Linked DNA regions of Homo sapiens: region 2 is linked to region 1. The links are contacts of gene promoters, found by promoter capture Hi-C in human tissues and cell types (Jung and others, 2019). All regions are on one chromosome and are shown on one strand. Each heading gives the region's core, a stretch centred on a gene start or on the middle of the fragment in contact. The rest is flanking DNA. Distances are from core to core; before and after follow the strand shown.

The links. Contacts are between HindIII fragments. The study calls those that stand out against the background at their distance.
Region 2: a fragment that was not itself captured here is called in contact with the fragment with the promoter of C9orf152 in region 1 in 1 of the 25 tissues and cell types used here (spleen).

Annotation. Positions count from the first base shown.
Region 1 is chr9:110,204,796-110,209,938 of GRCh38, forward strand. It overlaps C9orf152 (chromosome 9 open reading frame 152), which reads right to left and starts at 3,364. Exons shown (of 2, transcript NM_001012993.3): 1 at 2,592-3,364. The coding sequence starts at 2,784. RefSeq lists enhancers at 2,033-2,533, 2,534-3,034. The HindIII fragment of the contact is 9,571 bases long and covers 1-5,143 here.
Region 2 is chr9:111,363,069-111,368,169 of GRCh38, forward strand. ECPAS (Ecm29 proteasome adaptor and scaffold) reads right to left here. Exons shown (of 50, transcript NM_001364929.1): 47 at 3,454-3,559; 48 at 3,171-3,259; 49 at 520-591. Among named protein-coding and RNA genes, the nearest start is that of OR2K2, 35 kb to the left of the region's middle. The HindIII fragment of the contact is 3,873 bases long and covers 646-4,518 here.

The DNA.
Region 1 (5,143 bases), core at 2,114-4,613:
CATTCTGCTTTCCTTCTGTCTCTTTAAATATGACTACTCTACATACCTCATGTAAATGGGATTATACAGTATTTGTCTTTTTGGGACTGACTGACTTCACTCAGCATAATGTCCTCAAGTTTTATCCATGTTGTAGTGTATGGCAGAATTTCTTTCCTTTTTATGGCTGAATGATATGCCTGTCCTCAAATTTTGACTGCTCTCTCCATCTTCCCTGGCTTCATTTCCTCCTCTTGTTCCTTAAATATTTGAGTATTCCAGAACTCTAATTTTCATCCCAGTTTCTTATCAATTTACACATGGATTTGCCACAGTTTTATCCATGCCCATGGCTTCAGCTACCATCTATAGATGAATAACCCCAAATCTAGCTCTCCAGCCCAAATGAGATCCAGGCTGGATGGAAGGTCTACAGGCAACTATCTCCAATGCAGTATATTCAAAAACAAGTTCATCTCTCTCTACAAAAAGCCTTTTTCTCCACAAAAAGCCTTTTTCTCCTGTATTCTCAAGGAAAGATACCACCATCTATCCTGTTGCTAAAGTATAGGGGACAATTAATTGCTCTTTTGCCTCCTTAGTGCCATTTTCACCTTATTTTTGTCACCTTACTCTGATTTCTCCCTGGATAATTACCTACTCCTTCACATTCAGTGCTAGTGTTTCAAGTGGCCTTCCTACTTAGATACATGTGACATACGTGATCTTGTCCTCAGCCAGTCAGTGCATAAGGCCTTGATGAGCTTTATACATATTAGTTCATTTTATTCCTACAATAACCCTATGATTTGGGTACTACAGTTATTCCCAATTGACAGGTGAGGAAACTGAGCCCCAGAAAATTTATGTAACTTGTTTAAAGCTGCATATTAAGTAAATGGCAGAGCTGGGACTCAAACTCAGGCTGTGCTCCAAGACCCAGTACATGACCACTCCATTACACAGTATGCTGCCTCTCACAGTTAGATAAAGAATGTGGAACTCAGCCAAGTATGGTGGTTCACGCCCAGCACTTTTGAAGGTCGAGGTGGGTGGATCACCTGAGGTCAGGAGTTCAAGAGCAGCCTGGCCAACATGGTGAAACCCCATCTCTACTAAAAAAAATACAAAAATTAACCGAGCATGGTGGCAGGTGCCTGTAATCCAGCTACTCAGGAGGCTGAGGCAGGGAGAATTGCCTGAACCCGGGAGGCAGAGGTTTCAGTGAGCCGAGATTGCACCCCACTGCACTCCAGCCTGGGCAACAGAGTGAGAATCTGTCTCAAAAAAAAAAAAATGTGGAACTGCAAACTGCTGAAAGTGCCCTGAATGACCCTGACCTAGCTGGGAGGTCAGAAGTCTTCTCGGAGAAAGCCACACCTGGGCACTCCTTGCATGAACCATAATTTAGCACCTAGTAATGATGGGAAAGGGGGTACCGAGTTACCAAGAGCAGGAGAAAGGACGAGCACAGGGTATAGTGAATTCTCTGGGGGCATGTTGAATTTGAGATGTCTTTGGATCATCCCCACTAAGCAATTAGATTTGTGAGTCTGAATTGCAGGTGTATTAAGCATTGTGTTTCCATTTGATAGGGATTTAAATTGATAAATGTTTGTTGAATAACTGAATGAATAAATACCCTCAAGGGTGGGATAGAGCTTTAGGAACCTTTCAGTTTATGCCCTGCAGAGATGGTGACTGTTTGGCTGTGCCAGTTCACTCCTGCCAGGAACGAGGATTCCATTGGTTGGCAACAGCCCAGGTAATGGGAGATGGGCTCCTTCAGCTCAGAGGTGCCACTTTTGTTCCCAAAAGGCAGCACACTTCCTGCCCTAGACAGAGAGGTCCCTCTGGCCCCTGATTCCTGCCCAGTCTGGCCTGGCAAAGGGCAGCCCAAAGAGTCTACTGAACTCTACAAATAACCACAGAATCCCACAGAGCCCAGCTTTGACCTTTCAGGGTATCTTCCCTTCTCCCTCAACCTGTTCCTCTGTTAGAGGAGGAAGGGCTGGGATTTGACATGCCCTTGCTTTCTGAGCCCTGTGCCTCTAACTCCCTCCTGGAATGAAATCTGAGTTCCTAAAGGGAGGAGGTTTCTCCCCATGAGGGGGTTTCTGTGTCCAATCACACCTCCCTGCCTGATGTTTGAGGCTGGATGAGCCTGGGATGCCTCATGGGTCTCTGAGCCCTAGGCGTCCTCTGGCCCAGACAGTTCCCAGGCTGTTGGGAACGCCATGTCTTCTACCTCCAGAGTGAATTTCTCTGGTTTGTAGGAGGTGCCTTAGTTAGACCCAGCCAGGAAGCAGAGCTCCTATCGCCATACCTGGGCTAGCAGGGGGGCCAAGCCTGGCTCACCAGGCTGACCAGTCTAGCAAGATTAGAACATCAGAGCAGAGGCCAGGAACAGTGCTGGCAGCCAGGTGCTTGGCTGAGGCCCCTGGCTCCCTTAGCAGGTGGGACAGCTGAGCAGAGCTGCCCTGAGCCCGCCTCCCCTGCTCTTCCCCACTGGGAGGGAGGGCTGGCAAAGCCCTGGCTCTGCCTCCCTGCAGCTCTGCCACTCAGGTCTCCCATGGTAAGTCTCTCCTTCCCCAGCACCTGTCCATTCCTACCTTTTGGAAGCACCAGGAGGTGGGCCTGGGTCCTCTGCTGCCTCTTCAAGCCTTCATACTGGGCTCGCAGGAACTGGATGCTGAGTGGGGGCCCTTTCCCAGGGGCCTGAGTCCTGGAGCCCTCAGCCATTAAGTGAGACCTAAGCTGCCAGAAGTGGGGCAGGGCTGGGCACGGGCAGGGCAACCCCTCCATCCGGATCCGGGAGAAAAGCAAACACAGCTGGGTGGGGCAGGACCTGGGGAGGGGAGAGAGAGGGAGGGGGCAGTGAGGGAGAAGGAGAAGTGACGGGCAAAAGGAGGGTGGAAAGAGGAGTGGGACTGAGGAAGGAGATAGAAAAATAAGGGGGAAGGAGAAAGATGAAGGGGAAGAGGAGGTAGGGATAGGGAGAAATGTGGGGGAGGAGAAAGGTGGGAGACAGTGGCAGTAAGAGGAGAAGGAAATGTCAGAGGAAAGAAGGGGCAGCGAAGGGGGAAAGACTGGAGGAAGGAGGTGATAGTGACAAGCGGGGATTAATGGGGCGAGAGAAGAAAGAGAGGGAGGAAGATGGAGACAGGCAGGAGGAGGCAGGGAAAGGAGTGATGGGGAGTGGGAGACCGAGAAGTAAGGGGAGGACTGGGGGAGCAAAGAGAAAGGCAAGCCCAGCTGCTCAGAGCCCTTCAGGGGGGTCAAGAAGGTGTCTTATTCCAGGTCCTTCCATTGCTTGATCCTAAAGTTTAGAATCCAATTCCCAGTGCCACGGTGAAGTCTCCCCTTTCCTGGCAGAGCTGGGACTGGGGCTGGGGAGTGCTAAGCTCGCGCTCTGCTCACACATTTTGGACTGGAACGTGGCCACTTTTCAGCAAACCTGCCGGTTGGGTTTGCAGTAGTTCAAAGAACACCCTCGGGAGCTTCACAAGGTCGGTGCCTCTGGATGTGTGCCCCGCGGCCACACCCTAAAGAAACCCAGTAGCAAAGATCTCCCCAAGATCTCCACTCAGACCCCAACACACACCCCAGGTGAAAATTCAGCCCTAAAGTCAGCCATGGGACAGAGCCCAGGGGAATCTTGGCCTCGGGCCAGCCCTACCCCTTGGACATTTGGTGCAGCCTCTGCCGTCTCAGCATTCTCCAACCAAGTGGTAAGTTAGGCATCCCCTCACTCTCTGCTTGCCAGCCTCAACATTTCCACATTGCTTTTGAATCCCAGACCCTCTCCCTCTTACACCAGCTTTGACCTAGCCTTGCTGCATTTGGTCAACTAAGTCCCTTTCTATCTTCTCCTATCACGGTGCTTACTGATTACCCAATTACCCAATATGTCTACAGAGGCAATGGAAACAGAGTAGAGCCTGAACCTACAAGACATTTTGGACATTAACCAGACAAGATCTAGTCATTTGATGTGGGGGAGCCGTGGAAGATGGAGAGCAAATCTTCACTGGGTAGTATATGTTAGTTTTGCTAGGGCTGCCATAACGAAATCCCACAAACTGGATGTCTTAAACAACAAACATTATTGTCTCAGAGTTCTGGAGGTTAGAAGTCCAAAGTCAAGGTGTGAGCAGGGTTGGTTTCTTCTTGGAGCTGTGTGAGAGTATCTGTTCCATGCCTCTCACCTTGCTTCTGATGGTTTGCTAGCAATCTCTGGTATTCTTTGGCTTGCAAAAACATTGCCTAATCTCTGCCTTTATCTTGACATGATGTTCTTCCTTTTTATTTTTTTATTTTATTTTTTTTTTGAGAGGGAGTCTCACTCTGTCGCCCAGGCTGGAGTGCAGTGGCGTAATCTCAGCTCACTGCAAGCTCTGCCTCCCGGGTTCGCATCATTCTCCTGCCTCAGCCTCCCGAGTAGCTGGGACTACAGGCACCCGCCACCGCGCCCAGCTAATTTTTTGTATTTTTCGTAGAGACAGGGTTTCACCGTGGTCTCGATCTCCTGACCTTGTGATCCGCCCGCCTTGGCCTCCCAAAGTGCTGGGATTACAGGCGTGAGCCACCACACCCGGCCTAATATGATGTTCTTCCTATGTGGGTGTCTCTGTGCCCAATTTTCCCCTTTTTATAAGTACAGCAATCACATTGGATTAGAGCTCAATCTGTCTCAAAAAAATACCGAGAGAGATAGCCAAAGCTTCCTCATACCTTTTTATCGGTAGATCACTCTATCATGAAGGCAAGAGCAACCCATCCATGCTGGACCAGCTGCACCTGCCATGAAATCATGGCAGTAGACATCATGGCAGTAGGCTGGCCACAATGGCTCACAACTGTAATCCCAGCACTTTGGGAGGCTGAGGTGGGTGTATTGATTGTGCCCTGGAGTTCAGGACCAGCCTGGGCAACATAGTGAAACTCTGTATCTACAAAAATTAGCCAGGCATGGTGGCACATGCCTGTAGTCCGAGCTACTCGGGTGGCTGAGGTGGGATGATCACTTGAACCCAGAAGCTCGAGGCTGAAATGAGCCATGATTGCACCACTGTACTTCAGCCTGGGTAACAGAGTGAGCTCCTGTCTCAGAAAGAAAAGAGAAGAGAAGAGAAGAGAAGAGAAGAGAAGAGAAGAGAAGAGA
Region 2 (5,101 bases), core at 1,332-3,831, 1.2 Mb after region 1:
TCAGTAACAGATACACCACTGGAGAAAATGCTAACAGTTCCCCCCCACCCCACCCACTGATAGACCATTAGAAGAAAAAGAGGTTAGGGGAGAAGAAATAGGATTAAGAAAATTGCTACTGTCAGATTTGATGACTCAGGTAGATAACTGTTAAAAATGTTTTTCCAACTCCACTTTTCAGTGTGTCGTTCTGCTTATTTACATGTACACATGCCACTGTCAACCAATTCCTGTAATTAACCAAGATTAAATCAGGATTCACGATGAAAACAAAAACTTTATTACTTTAAGACAACTATAGCTTAATAATATATTAAAAATATATAAAAGTGTATCAAATTTAAATATTTAGTAAAATTTAATAGTTTTGGCTTTGTCCATTCTTCTTGCATGTGCATACATACTGATTTGTATTTCAGAGTATATGCTTAAGAGTATAAGCAAAAACGAAACAAAAAATTTCTAAAACATATGCCACATGGCTTTATGGTCCCCCAGTCAGAACTAACAACAACTTACCTTCAAGTTTTTTAAGCAGCAATTCTATCACAGATAAAGCTTCTGTTCTCACAGATGAGTAGGTCTTATTTTCTAAAAAGAAATATCATACAGTTCATATGGCCTGCCTGAAAAACACAACCTCCAAGATTAAATTTGTGTTGCTGAAAGAAAGATGTCCAGAAATTACAACTCTAGGGAAGGGTATATCTGATTTTTTTTTTTTAAAGGAAGCTTCCCTTTGCTAAGTATCAAATACTTGAAATGTGTGCTAATGTCCACAGTCTTTACTTTGGAAAAACAAAAACCTGTCAGCCAAGTATACCAATCACCACAACAAATGGCAATATTTAAATGATCCATTTTAGAAGTGGGAGATGAAAAAACTATCTCAAACACAAAATCATCTTCGTATCACGGATAAGAACGATCCTTAGGTCTACATGACCCTCCTCATTTTACCAAAGAACATTATATGACCCAGTGTTTAAGCCGATCAGGGACACCTGGAACTCAGCAAAGAGAGGTCTGTTGGCTGCCTGTTCTTTATCCATAAAAGGATGCTGCTGCCAACAACTGCGAATGAAACATGCTTCCTTGGCATCCACTCTTTGACACGGCGTCTGGTTCATGGTGAAATTGTCTACCAAAAAAATCAACACACAACCAAGCCCAAAGCAGGGTAGGCATGAGATGGGCCTTATCATCTTGTTATGCTACAAAGTACAAAAGTGCTACAAAGAGTGACGGTGACCTGTCAAAAGGACACAGGAGGCAGCTTGAAAGGGCTTCCACTGGCCAAATCTGGGACAACTGGAATAACGAATTAGATTTAAAAAATTAAATTATAAACCATTTGAAGGGGGAAAGATTCCATGAATCAATGCCAGTAACAGATAAATAAAAACATGGGCAGAAGAGAAGAATCTTGCTTACAACAGAATTCCAACTATCAAATGGTGAATGTGGACAAAGTGCTAGAGTTGCAAAATCATCTTAGTAAAAATTGGTTCAGGGAAGAATCATCAATGCATGCTAAATATAGAGAAGAAATTTTAAAGAAGAGAAACAAATTACTTGAATGATCTTAAGATCTGTTCCCACAGGCTACTTATTAGACACAAAAAGAAAACATAGTAACTATCCAGTAGAGAAAAACTGATAGTACCTTGACCAGGTAATCAAAATTAACATCACAAATGATGACAGATGGACACTGTGTGCCTCTTAATGTGAGGACACATCACTTATGTATGTATCCCAACTGGGAATTCACAACCTGGATATAATCATGAGAAAACATCAAACACCAAATGAGAAACATTCTGTTTTTTCAAAAAGGGAAGTCGGGGGGACTTTATTCTTCAAAATTGTCAATGTCCTAAGACAAAGAAAGGCTGACGAAGTATTCCAGATTGAAGGAGACTAAAAATATATGACAATAAAATTCAATAAATAATCCTGGAGGCCAAGGCGGGCAGATCACTTGAGGTCAGGAGTTCAAGACCAGCCTAGCCAACATGGTGAAACCCCGTCTCTACTAAAAATACAAAAATTAGCCAGGCATGATGGCACACACCTGTAATTCCAGTTACTTGGGAAACTGAGGCAGGAGAATCACTTAAACCCAGAAGGCAGAGTTGCAGTGAGCCAAGATCACGCCACTGCACTCCAGCCTGGGTGACAGAGCAAGACCCTGTCTCAAAAATAATAATAACCATTATCATCATCATCATCATCATCATCATCATCATCATCACCTGGACTGGATTCCCTAATGGAGGGGAGGGGGAAAAAATCCTATAAAGAACATTACTGGCTGGGTGTGGTGGCTCATGCCTATAACTCCAGTACTTTGGGAGGCCAAGGCAGGTGGACTGCTTGAGCTCAGGAGTTTTGAGACCAGCCTGGCCAACTTCGTGAAGCCCTGTCTCTACAAAAATACAAAAATCAGCTGGGCGTGACAGTACACACTTGTAATCCCAGCTACTTGGGAGACTGAGGCAGGAGGACTGCTTGAACCTGGAAGGTAGAGGTTGCAATGAGCTGAGATCACACCACTGCACTCCAACCTGAGTGACAGAGCGAGACTCCAACTCAAAAAAAATAAAAATAAAAATAAAGAACATTACCGAATCAACTGAACAAACTAGAATATGAACGATAAACATTTGATTTAAAAAACTGCATCCATGTTTACTACCTAAAGTTGACAACTGTACCGTGGCACACTAAATAATTGAGGAACAAGGGGGCCTGAAGTAAGCAACATACTTTCAAATGGTTCAGGAGAAAAACATGTATATAGAAGTCCAAATGACAAAGCAAATGGCACAAAATGTTAACAAATGATTCTGCATAAAGTGTATACATATTGCAGAGTATTACATGTACTGTCGTTGCAACCATTCTGTAAGTTTGAAATTACTTTCAAGTAACAATTTTGTAAAAATACTTGTCACGAAGGTTTTTCTAAACTAGATGCTAAAATCCTGTTATAGTTCCAGATTTAAATATTCCAGTTAAGGGGTACACATGGAGTATAATAAGTAGCAGAGTCCAGTAGCTATTTCAGAAATTTAGTTCCTAAGACAAAGTAGGAAATATTTGAAGCTCAGCTCCTTAGCTTTAAAATTAGGACTCCCTCATCAGTTTTAGTTTACTACACTCACCTAAAGAATATGTGATTGATTTACAAGTTTCAAGCAGAATTTCAGCCAAAGCCTCAGGATCGGCATGTTCTTCTTCCAAAAGCATTAACCTATACAAATCAGAAAGCAAGGTACAAATGCCAATTATTAAGAAACAGTCTAAAACTTTCCTGTCACAATTTCTATCTGTATGTATCACTGTCACTTTAGCTACCAGTTTTTAAATGTATAAAAATTCCATTGATTATACATAAAATGCTGCGGGGAGGAACAAAATAAAAAACTGAGCCATGAAGCAATTTACCCCTGAAAAAAGGCATTCATTGATTGCAGGACTCCTAGCTGCACTTTCCACGTGCTGAGTTTTAGCCGTTCACACATCAGTTTGCACAGCTCCTGACGATAACAACCTGGGAAAAAAAGACAAGGTGGGACAGAGCAGGAGACAGTATAAAAGAACAAGAGATGGAATAAATGAGGGACAGGCAGAGAGAGCAAGAGAAAGGAAGAGGGAAAGAGAAAGAGAGAAGGTGGGGAGGATAAGAGAGAGAAAAGCAGGAAAAAGAGAAATAAAACAATAAATACTTTTAATTAAAGCCATTGAAATTTCCCCAAAAACTTCAGCATGACTTTGTACTCAATCCCCAAACAAATTTCCTTGATCAGAAACTGCCCCCACAAAGGTGCAATATAATTGTTCACAAATATTCACTTTCAAGGCATATGGTTCTCCATGGAACTGAGAAAGCACTTTAACCACACTCCCTTTGCCCCTCAAAACTCCCTGAATGACAGCCACAGAAAGAACTCTGGAGGCCAGAAGCTCCTCTCTAGATGCTCACAAGCTTCTGCAAATTGCAGGTTTACCAAGAGTCAACAGTGCTTTATTATAAACCTGTTATGCCAACTGCAACTGTAATTATAACTATATAATTAATATTATGCCAACTGATGAATCAGCAGAAAACTCAACAACGAAGTTATTTTTAATTACTGTAGGATTTAGTAGGGCTCAAACAAATGTAAAAATGGGGGGAGGCAATAAAAAATCTAGAATTCTGCACTAGGATTGTCTCATAAGAGCTTGAAATTTCTTTCTCTGTTTTAAAGAAACAAAACCCAGAAATTGTAGATATATATGAGAAGCCAATGTGTAACAGTTAAGTTCCTAAAGAAAAGGCCTTGGTTCTCAATAAATGCACATTTCTATTAACAACCTTCTATGTCTTATATTAAAATAAACTGCTTTATGTTTGTATCATCTTTCTCATATAATTCCCTACTTTAGCTTTCTCTACCTATCAAGGAAAAGTTAATACTCTTTATGGCATCATATTAGTGGACTTCCATGGCAGTCTATAACATAATATTAAGAAATAAAACCACCTGCAAATTTGTATCTTCTGGGAAACCCTTCCTATAAACATAGCAAATATATAAGTTCACACAAAGGATGACAGGGCTCAAAGAGAACCTTAACTGATTCTAGACATATCCAATCACAAATAATCAACAGTACTTTTTATAACATTCAATAATATTGTCGCTGGGCATGGAGGCTCATACCTATAATCCCAGCACTTTGAGAGGGAGGCCAAAGTGGGAGGATCACTTGAGCCCAGGAGTTTGAGACCAACCTGGGCAACATAGCAAGACCTCACCTCTTCAAAAAAAATTTGCTGGGTGTCGTGGCATGCACTTGTAGACCCAAATACTTGGGAGGCTGAGGCAGGAAGATCACTTGAGCCCAGGAGGTAAAGGCTGCAAGAACTGCACCACTGCACTCCAGCCTGGGCAACAAAGCAAGACCCTGTCTCAAAAAAAAAACAAACAAAAAAAAAACGAATACTAAGATCTTCAGCAGGATGCACTGTAGGACCCAACACAAGGCAAGCTTAAAGGGTAGCATCATCACTTCTTGGCCTTTTGGCTAAGATCAAGTGTAAAGGGTA